3 separate regions of the Homo sapiens genome follow, and regions 2 and 3 are each linked to region 1. Evidence: promoter capture Hi-C in 16 types of primary human blood cells and fetal thymus (Javierre and others, 2016). All regions are on one chromosome and are shown on one strand. The core of a region is centred on a gene start or on the middle of the fragment in contact, and the rest is flanking DNA. Distances in the headings are between cores, read along the strand shown.

Evidence for each region. Contacts are between HindIII fragments. The CHiCAGO score rates a contact against its expected background, and 5 or more counts as called.
Region 2: a contact is called between a fragment that was not itself captured here and the fragment with the promoter of ERCC3 in region 1, in 1 of 17 cell types (neutrophils). The highest score is 5.6, in neutrophils.
Region 3: a contact is called between a fragment that was not itself captured here and the fragment with the promoter of ERCC3 in region 1, in 4 of 17 cell types (neutrophils, megakaryocytes, erythroblasts and 1 more). The highest score is 5.7, in neutrophils.

Annotation. Positions count from the first base shown.
Region 1 is chr2:127,292,667-127,296,194 of GRCh38, forward strand. It overlaps ERCC3 (ERCC excision repair 3, TFIIH core complex helicase subunit), which reads right to left and starts at 1,478. Exons shown (of 15, transcript NM_000122.2): 1 at 1,388-1,478; 2 at 847-1,052; 3 at 1-180. The coding sequence starts at 1,415. The HindIII fragment of the contact is 2,323 bases long and covers 503-2,825 here.
Region 2 is chr2:127,588,426-127,591,966 of GRCh38, forward strand. It overlaps MYO7B (myosin VIIB), which reads left to right. Exons shown (of 48, transcript NM_001393586.1): 15 at 1-130; 16 at 1,667-1,804. Among named protein-coding and RNA genes, the nearest start is that of MYO7B-AS1, 41 kb to the right of the region's middle. The HindIII fragment of the contact is 8,153 bases long and covers 1-3,541 here.
Region 3 is chr2:127,688,378-127,691,815 of GRCh38, forward strand. No RefSeq gene overlaps it. Among named protein-coding and RNA genes, the nearest start is that of SFT2D3, 11 kb to the right of the region's middle. The HindIII fragment of the contact is 6,533 bases long and covers 1-3,438 here.

The DNA.
Region 1 (3,528 bases), core at 228-2,727:
CTCGGTGATGTCACTGGTTTGCAGCCCAACGCTGACAGCTGCATACAAGGAGTAGGCAGTTAGTTTGTACTCATGCACATGGGTTGGTCGGCACACTGGCTCTGCAATAGCCACCAAGAAGTCTTGGGCATATTTGTAAACTGGAGAGAAGGCTTCCAAGAAGATATGGCCATCGGGAGCCTGAGAGATACCAAATGGACAAAACAGACAAGGAAACATGAGTTGCAGAGACTACTGGGCTCTTGCCCATATCATTATCAAGAAAGAATAAGCTGCCCAACACCACAGATATTCTTGCAAGCACTCCTTCAGACAACTGTGGGGCCTGTTACATTAATCAGATACAGAAGAGTAAAGAAAAATAGAAGAAAGTGTTTCCAAAGTCAACAGCTGTTTCCTACTATTCTGCACAGAGAAAGCCCATCTTACTGGCTATCCTCAAGTTACCTTTTGGCTAGATTTCAACTAAATGTATAACATTAATTATTTAAAGTAGAGCAAAAGCTTGCTACCGAACATGTCTTCCATTATTTGAGGAAACAAACTGTTACATGATAAATGCTATTTATTCGGCAGATAAAAGGATTCACTACATGGGGTAGGGCTGGGGAAGGAGTGAGAGTAAACCGAGGGGTTAGAGCTGTTGGAAGCCCAGGTCCGGCCGCCACACGTGTGCGCAACTGCTCGCTGTTGCCTTGGGCTGTTCCAACGTGTGTGGATGAAAATTCTCTCCCGGCCAGTTCTAGGGGCAGTATCCTGAATGTCAGTTTTGACTCTGAGGATGCCCAAGATTTAGCTGCCGCTCCGCACACTCCTGGGCCCTGCCCAAGCTAAGGGCATGCTTACCACCCAGAGGGGCCTGGAGGTGTGGTCGTCCTTCAGCGGCATTTGCAGCCTGTAGTCCTTGGCTCCATATTCATCCACTTTGGTGCCTGACTCATCCACCTGCTTCCCCGCCGCCGAGGGAACCGCTTCCTGAGGGTCGTTCCCCGGGGCGTCCTCTTCATCATCCTCTTCATCCTCATAGTGCCGCTTCCTGGATTTCTTCTTGTCTGCAAGATACCAACACAGAAGTAAGCCCAGCAGGAGCCTTCAGGGTTCCCTCCGCACCGCTTGGCAGCATTTCACCTGCGCCGCCGCAAACTCCTAGCTAAGAGCCACCTGCATCCCGCAGGCGTTGCGCCCCTCACCCGTCTCCCCTAGGCCGAGTTCGCTGGGCTGCGCCCAGGTCCAGCATCTCTCCCGCCCAAAGGCCTGTCCCAACGGGGTGCGCGCGGGAGGGCCAGCAGGGTCGGCCGGCGCAGAGGCCCGGAGCAGCTCCGAGGCAGAGCGGGGGGCAGGGCCGGCAAGGGCAGTCGTGGCTGAGCGTGCCCGCGCAACGTCTCACCGCGGTCCGCTCGGTCTCTTTTGCCCATGGCAGCTACAGCAGCAGAGAGAAGATGACCCCGCTCCCACAGGCCCGCCGCGGCATCCGCTCTGGGGGGACTTCCGGCTCAATCCGGAAGCTCCCTGTTGTCCACACAGGATGTCCCGCCTCTAGGCGCCGTGATGTGGGTGGCTGGAAGAGCGGAGAGCCAGCGACCGCCGATCTGTTAGCTCGTGCGACCCAGCGGCGGGGGTCCTCCACTGTTCATTTCTCTACAACTGAAGGAAAATACTGTGTGTTGAGCACCTGTGTAGTGCGCGAATTAAAGGCCTCATCCTTCTGGAACTTAAATTTTAATGAAGCCATGTGGGCAATAAATGTGTGTGTGAGAGAGAGAGAGAGAGAATGTGACCTGAGTCCATGGGTAAGGAAGAATTCTTTTTTTTAATTAAAAAAAATTTGGCTGAGCACGGTGGCTCACGCCTGTAATTCCAGCACTTTGGGAGGCTGAGGTGGGTGGATCACTTGAGGTCAGGAGTTCGAGGCCAGCCTGGCCAACATGGTGAAACCCCATCTCTGCGAAAAATACAAAAAAAAGTAGCCAGGCATGGTGGCACACGCCTGTAGTCTAAGCTACTTGGGAGGCTGAGATGGGAGAATCTCTTGAACCCAGAAGGTAAAGGCTGCACTGAGCTGAGATTGCACCACTGCACTACAGCCTGGGCGACAGGCCGAGAGTTCGTCTCAAAAAAAATTTTTTTCTTTTTTTTTTTTTTTTTTTTGAGACGGAGTCTCGCCCTGTCGCCCAGGCTGGAATGCAGTGGCGCGATTTCAGCTCACTGCAAGCTCCGCCTCCCGGGTTCATGCCATTCTCATGTCTCAGCCTAAATAAAGCAGATTACCCTCAATAATGCGGGTGGGCCTCATCCAAATCAGTTGAAGGCCTTAAGAGCAAAGACAGGTTTCTCAAGGAAAAAGGAATTCTGCCTCCAGACTGCAACACAGAAAGTTCTGACTGAGTTTCCAGCCTTTGGACTCAAAACTACAACATCAACTCGTACCTGAATTCCCAACTTGCCAACCCCCACAATTGCATGAGCCAATTCTTTAAAATCAATCAATCAATCTCGCTTGCTCAGTGGGCCTCTTGGTTCTGTTTCTCTGGAGAACGTAACACAGATTTTTGGTACGGGGAATAGGGTACTGCTGTAACAAATACCTAACAATGGGGAAGTGGTTTTCAAATTGGGTAATCGGTAGAGGCTGAAAGAATTTTGAGGCGCATGATAGAAAAGCCTCTATTGTCTTGAAGAGCCTTGGTAGAAGTATGGGCATTAAAGGTGATTCTGGTGACGGCTCAGATGGAAAGGAGAAATATGTTATTGAAACTGGAGGCAAGTGGTAGAGAGCTTGCCTGAATTGTATTCTGTTGGGTGGAAAGTAGAACTTATAAGTGATAAGCTTGGACATTTTGCTGAGGAAATTTCTACATGATGGTTCAAAGTGAGGCCTGGGCCAGGCGCGGTGGCTCACGCCTGTAATCCCAGCACTTTGGGAGGCCGAGGCAGGGGATCATAAGGTCAGGAGTTCAATACCAGCCTGGCCAATATGGTGAATCCCCGTCTCTACTAAAAATACAAAAATTAGCTGGGCGTGGTGTCGCGCGCCTGTAGTCTCAGCTGCTCAGGAGGCTGAGGCAGGAGGATCTCTTGAACTCAGGAGGCAGAAGTTGCAGTGAGCAGAGATCACGCCACTGCACTCCAGCCTGGGCAACAGAGCAAGACTCCGTCTCAAAAAAAAAAAAAAAAAAAACTGAGGCCTGCTTTCTCCTTATTGCTTATAGTGAAATGTGAGAAGAGATACACTGAAGGTGGAATTATTCAACAAAAAGGAACCAGAACTTGAAGATTTGGATCATTCTTATACTCACATTGTAAAAAAAAAAAAAAAAAAAAAAAAAAAAAAAAAAAAGAGAGAGAGAAAGTATGCTCTGGAGAAACACTAAGGATGTGGACAACCATTTATTTGCAAGAGATTAGGTGTGTGGCTTATAGACCCAATCACCCATCTCCACAGAAACCTGGACAGTTTTGACTAGGGTACATAGATGGGATGAAATGAAGGAAGGCTGTTGGACTCCCAGGATTCCACAGGTAGGAAAG
Region 2 (3,541 bases), core at 455-2,954, 300 kb after region 1:
AGATATCCTCACCCTGGTTTACTCCTCCAAAAACAAGTTTCTGAGGGAGATATTCAACTTGGAGTTAGCAGAGACCAAGCTGGGCCATGGGACCATCCGCCAGGCAAAGGCAGGAAACCATCTCTTCAAGGTGGGCTCCCAGGCACCCTCCTGGGTCTGTCACCCCTGATGGCTACAGGGCCAGACAGACATGTACAGGAAAGACTGTTTTACTCACCTCTGGGTCCACAGCATGCAGTTGGCACTTGGGAATCCTGCAATGGATGGATGGATGGGTGAATGGATGGGTGGGTGGATAGATGGGTGAGTGGGTGGATGGGTAGTGGGTGGGTGGATGGGTGAGTGGATGGATGGGTGGTGGGTGGGTGGATGGATGGGTGGGTGGATGGATGGGTGGGTGAGTGGATGGGTGGATGGGTGTGTGAGGGTGGATGGGTAAATGGATGTGTGGTTGGTTGGTTGGATGGATGGATGGATGAGTGGATGGATGGGTGAGTGGATGGACGGGTGAATGGGTGGTTGGGTGGATAGATGGGTGAGTGGGTGGATGGGTAGTGGATGGGTGGATGGATGGGTGAGTGAGTGGATGGGTGGTGGGTGGGTGGATGGATGGGTGGGTGAGTGGATGGGTGGATGGGTATGTAAGTGGATGGGTGAATGGGTGTGTCGATGGTTGGGTGGATGGGTGAGTGGGTGAATGGATAGATGGATGGGTGGGTGGCTGTGTGGATGGGTGAGTGGATGGACGGGTGGGTGGGTGGATGGGTGAATGGATGGGTGGATGGGTGAGTGGGTGGATGGATAGATGGACGGGCAGGTGGCTGTGTGGGTGGGTGAGTGGATGGATGGGTGGGTGGATGGGTGGGTGGGTGGATGGATAGATGGATGGGTGGGTGGCTGTGTGGATGGGTGAGTGGATGGATGGATGGGTGGGTGGAATGGTGAATGAATGGGTGCATGGGTGGGTGCATGTGGCAGCTTATATAAGGGGGTTTGGAGTGGGAATGGGAATCTGGGGGGTCCAGAGTTTAGATAGGAGAAGTGACTTTGTGCTGGGTAGATGGTGGGGGCCACGCCTGGGTAGAGGGGTGGAGAGCATGGCCTTAGTGGGGCCATGGGTGGATGGGTGAGTGGGTGGATGGGTGGTGAGTAGGTGGATGGATGGGTGAGTGGGTGGATGGGTGGTGCGTGGGTGGATGGATGAGTGGGTGCATGGGTGAATGGATGGGTGAATGGGTGGGTGGATGGGTGGGTGGGTGGATGGGTGAGAGGGTGGATGGATAGATGGATGGGCGGGTGGCTATGTGGGTTGGTGAGTGGATGGAAGGATGGATGGGTGGGTGGGTGGGTGAATGGATGGACGCATGGGTGGGTGGGTGGATGGGTGCTGGGTAGGTGGAAGGATGGGTGAGTGGGTGGATGGGTGGTGGGCGGGTGGATGGGTGGGTGGGTGGATGGATAGGTGTGTGAGTGGATGGGTGAAGGGGTGGGTGGATGGGTGAGTGGGTGGATGGATACATGGATGGGTGGGTGGGTGGATTCTTGAATAGGTAGATGCACCACCCCACCTGTGGGGCCTTGGCCGCAACCCTTGCTGGCCTACAGGGTCAGCTGTCCCAGGACATGGCTCCTGAGACCCACTTGTGCTCTGTGCTTCCATTCACAGTCTGCAGACTCAAATAAACGGCCCTCCACCTTAGGAAGCCAGTTCAAACAGTCTCTGGACCAGCTGATGAAAATCCTGACCAACTGCCAGCCTTACTTCATCCGCTGCATCAAACCTAATGAGTACAAGAAGCCGCTGGTAATGACAGGAGGCTGGGGCACAGCAAAGGAGGGAGGAGGAGGAGGCTGATGGCCTCTAGGGTTGTGGTCACTCCCTCTGCCAGGGCCTGGCTAGCGTTAGAGCTGTTACTGCCCCTACCTTACAGATAAGTACACTGGGGTAAGGTGACCAGACTAGGTCATGTGAAGGTCAGTGACCTGCAGAGCTTTGGGTTGCTGAGACCTCAGTTCCCTTAGCTCCGCCATGCATCTTCTGTGCGTTCTTGGCCTGGCTCTTTGCTGCTGTGAGCCTCAGTTTTCCCTTCTGTTAAGTCAGACTTGCTCCTGCCTGCAGGAATGCACTGAGGGTTGGACATGAGGTTTGCAGTACATGTCCCATATGTAAACCACACTCAACAAAGGCAGAAATCAGTAATAGGACTTTAGAGGCTGACACCACTCCTTTCACCAGCCCTGCAGACAGTCAGCTTTACCTGCTGTGAGACGGTGAGGGGGTGAGAGCCCACACTCCCTGCCCACAACGGAGTCCCTGCTCCATTGGGTGGGGAGTCCCACCCAGAGGCCGCATATGCAGGGATTCCCCAAACTAGGAGACATCAGCTGAAACAATATAAAATGGTTTTATCCCCATAAGGGAATAAAAATATTACATGAAATTAAATGCTTTTTGGAAAGAATAAAACTATGTGAAATCGAGTTTGATCTGGGTGCAGTAGCTCACGCTTGTAATCCCAGCACTTTGGGAGGCTGAGGCGGGAGGATTGCTTGAGGCAAGCCTGGGCAACATAGTAAGACCTTATCTCTGCAAAAAAATTTAAAAGTATAAAAATTAGCTAGGTATGGTGGTATGTGCCTGTAGTCTCAGCTACTCAGGAGGCTGAGGGAGGAGGATCACTTGAGCCCAGGAGGTCAAGGCTGCAGTGAACTATGATCACACCACTGCACTTCAGCCTGGGTGACAGAGCAAGACCTGTCTCTAAAAAAATAAAATGAGGCTTGCCTTATGAAATCTAGGTTGCATCTTCCTTGAAGGCAAAATAGGCAGATGTGAGATAACCTATCTTGTTCCTTAACTGCTGGGAGAAGTAGCTGGGCTCCCAGAGACCCTTGGCTCGTTCAGACCCTGCCTACCTTGGGAGCTGGGAGTTGCAGGACAGGCAGGCAGGCCTGAGGCTGAAGCTCGGGGGTTAAGAGTGCCTCTGGCTGGGATATCTCTCATTGGTGGCTGCTCAGGGTTCAAACCCAGGCTCAGCCCCTTAGAAGCAAAACCCTATGCCTCAGCACCTCATCTTTAAGTTGGAGCCAATCACCCCCACCAGGTAGGAATGTTGTAAAGATTCAGTGAGAAACACCAGGCCCATAGGAAATCGTCAGTGAAGCGCAGCTAAACACTTACCCGAGGCTAAGCTCAGTGTGGCCTGGACCCCACCAGCAGTTGGCGCTGTGACCCTGCAGGTGGGGTAACAGTGCCTGCTGGTGGGTTTGCCACATCAGAGGGCGTTCCCCAGGGTCCCTCAGAGACTCCTGGCTTGTAGGTGGAGAGGGGCTCTCTAGAATCCAAGCCATGGCAGAGTCTTGGAACCCCTGCTGAAGCCTGACACCCCAGGGAAGGACATCATGCCATTTCTCTGCCAGTCACACTCGCCTCAAAGCAAAAGACGGCTCAGCTCCCTGGGGCCAAAGGCCCTCCACTCCTCCGCCCCAGCCACTCCAGGTCTCACTCTGACCTCCATCTCCAGGGAGGGAGAGACTAAGT
Region 3 (3,438 bases), core at 172-2,671, 400 kb after region 1:
CTTTATATTGTAATTATCTACTTTTACCAACACTTTTGTTTTTCATGTGGATTCAAATTAGTTTCTGGTGTCACTTGCTTTCTATCTGAAAAACCTTAAATATTTCTTGTTACTCAGGACTGGTAGCAATAAATTCAGTCAGATTTTATTTATTTTGGAGTGCTTTTTATTTTGCCATTATTGTTGAAAGATAGTTTTGTTGGGTATGGAATTATTGGTTAACAGGTTTTTTGTTGTTGTTTTGTTTTTACTGTTAAGCACTTTGAACATGTCATACCACGGCTTTCTAGCCCCCATTGCTTCTGATGAGACATCATTTGTCAATATTATTGTACTACTGGTACACAATGAATTGTATTCCTTTTGCTGCATTTAAGATTTTATCTTTATCTTTGGCTTTCAAAATTTGACTATAATATGTCTGAGTGTGAATGCCTTTGTGTTCATCCTACTTGAAATTCATTGTTTCTCAGATGTTTAGAATAATGTTTTTCATCAAAGTTGGGGAAATTGGTCAGGCACAGTGGCTCTTGCCTTTAGGTGATGAGTAAGCTCAGGACTTTAGGAGGCTGAAGTGGGATGATCATTTGAGGCTAGGAGTTCAAGACCAGCCTAGGAAATACAGCAAGACCCTGTCTTTACAAAAAACTTGAAAATTAGCTGAGCATTGGGGTGCATGCCTGTAGTCCTAGCTACTTGGGAGGTTGAGGCAGGAAGAATGCTTGAGCCCAGGGAGTCAAAGTTAGAGTGAGCTATGCTTGTGCCACTGCCTTCCAGGCTGGGTGACAGAGCAAGACTCTTTCTATAAACATGATAATATTAATAAATTTTAAATAAATAAGCAAATAATTTGGGGAAATTTTCAGCCATTGTGCCTTCTAATAATTTTTATGTCCCTTTCTCTCACTTCTCTCCATTATTCTTATGTGTATTAGTCCATTTTTACATTGCTATAAAGAAATACCTGAGACTGGGTAATTTATAAAGAAAGGAGATTTAATTGGCTCACAGTTCTGCAGGCTGTACAGGAAGTGTGGCAGCATCTGCTTGGCTTCTGGGGAGGCCTTAGGAAACTTATACTCATGGCAGAAGGTGAAGGAGAAACAGGCACATCTTACATGGCCAGAGCAGAAGGAAAAGAGAAGGAGCAGGGAGGTGCTACTTTTTTTTTTTTTTTTGAGCTGGAGTCTCACTCTGGCCTAGGCTGGAGTGCAGTGGTGCAATCTCTGCTCACTGCAACCTCTGCCTCCCAGGTTCAAGTAATTCTCCTGCCTCAGCCTTCCAAGTAGCTGGGATTACAGGCACCCACCACCATACTCAACTAATTTTTGTGTTTTTAGTAAAGACAGGGTTTCACCATGTTGGCCAGGCTGGTCTTGAACTCCTGGCCTCAGGTGATCTGCCCCCCCTTAGCCCCCCAAAGTGCTGGGATTACAGGTGTGAGTCACTGTGCCTGGCCCAGACTTGTAAATGACCAGATTTTATGAGAACTCACTATTATGACTAAGGAGGATGGTGCTAAACCACTGGAAACTGCCCCCATGATCCAGTCACCTCCCACCAGGCCCCACCTCTAACACTGGGAATTATAATTTAACACGAGATTTGGGTGGGGACACAAACCATATCATTTTGCCGCCGGCCCCTCCCAAATCTCATGTCCTTCTGATATTTCAAAATATAATCATGCAGTCTCACAAAGTGTTAACTTATTCCAGCATTAACTCAAAAGTCCAAAATCTCATCTGAGACAAGGCAAGTTCCTTCCACCTATGAGCCTGTAAAATCAAAAACAAGTTAGTTACTTCCAATGGGGGTACAGTCATTGGTTAAATACTCCCATTCCAAAAGGGAGAAATCAGCCAAAAGAAAGGGGCTTCAGGCCCCATGCAAGTTCAAAACCCAGCAGGGTAGTCGTTCAATCTTAAAGGTCCAAAATAATCTCATTTGACACCATGCCCCACATCCAGGGGACACTAGTGTGAGAGCTGGGCTCCCAAGGCCTTGGGAAGCTCTCCCCCTGTGGCTTTGCAGGGTTCAGCCCACATGGCTGCTCTCAAGGGATGGTCTTGAGTGCCTGTGGCTTTTCCAGGTGCAGGATGCAAGCAGCCAGTGGATCTACCATTCTGAGGTCTGGAAGACAGAGGTCCTCATCTCACAGCTCCACTAGGTAGTCCCCCAGTGGGGAGTCTGTGTGGGGGCTCCAACCCCACATTTCCACACTGCCTTAGTAGAGGTTCTGTATGAGGGCTTTGCCCCTGCAGCAGGTTTCTGCCTGAACATCCAGGCATTTCCATACATCCTCTGAAATTTAGGCAGAGGCTCCCAAGCCTAAACTCTTGCATTCTGTGCACCTGCAGGCTTAACACCACATGAAAGTTGCCAAGTTTAATGGCTTGCACCCTCTGAAACAGTGGCCAGGGCCCCTTTCAGCCAGCTGGAGCTGGAGCAGCTGGGATGCAGGGAGTAGAGTCTCAAGGCTGTGCAGGGCAGCAGGGCCCTGGGCCTGACCTAGAAAACCATTCAGTCCTCTGAAGCATCCAGGCCTGTGCTGGGAGGGGCTGCCACGAAGGTCTCTGAAATGCCTTCTAGACCTTTTCCCCATTGTCTTGGCTATTAGCACTTGGGCTCCTCTTTACTTATGCAAATTTCTGCAGCCTGCTTGAATTCCTCCCCCGAAAATTAGCTTTTCTTTTCTACCACATGGCCAGGCTACAAATTTTCCAAACTTTTACACTCTGCTTCCCTTTTAAATATAAGTTCCAGGTTCAGGTCATTTCTTTGCTCACACATATGAGCGTAGGTTGTTAGAAGCAGCCAGGCCAATCCGTAAACACTTTGCAGCTTAAAAATTTCTTCCACCAGATACCCTAAATCATCACTCTCAAGTTCAGAGTGCCACAGATCCCTAGGGCAGGGGCACAACACCACCAGGTTCTGTTGCGAATATGTAACAAAGGTTATCTTTGCTCCAGTTCCCATTAAGTTCCTTATTTCCATCTGAGACCTCCTCACCCTGGCCTTCACTATCCATATTACTATCAGCATTTTGGTCACAACCATTTAACCAGTCCGTAGGGAGTTCCAAATTTCCCCTCATCTTCCTGTCTTCTTCTGAGCCCTCCAAACTCTTCCAACCTCTGCTCATTACCCAGTTCCAAAGTCACTTCCACATTTTCAGGTATTTTTATAGCAATGTCCCACTCCTCAGTACCAATTTTCTATATTAGTCCATTCTTGCATAGCTATAAAGAAATTCCAGAGACTGGGTAATTTATAAAGAAGAGAGGTTTAATTGGCTCATGGTCCTGCAGGCTGTACAGGAAGCATGGCAGCATCTGCTCAGCTTCTGGGGAGGCCTCAGAAAACTTACAATCATGGCAGAGTGCAAATGGGGAACAGGCATGTCTTACATGGCCAGTGCAGGAGGAAGAAACA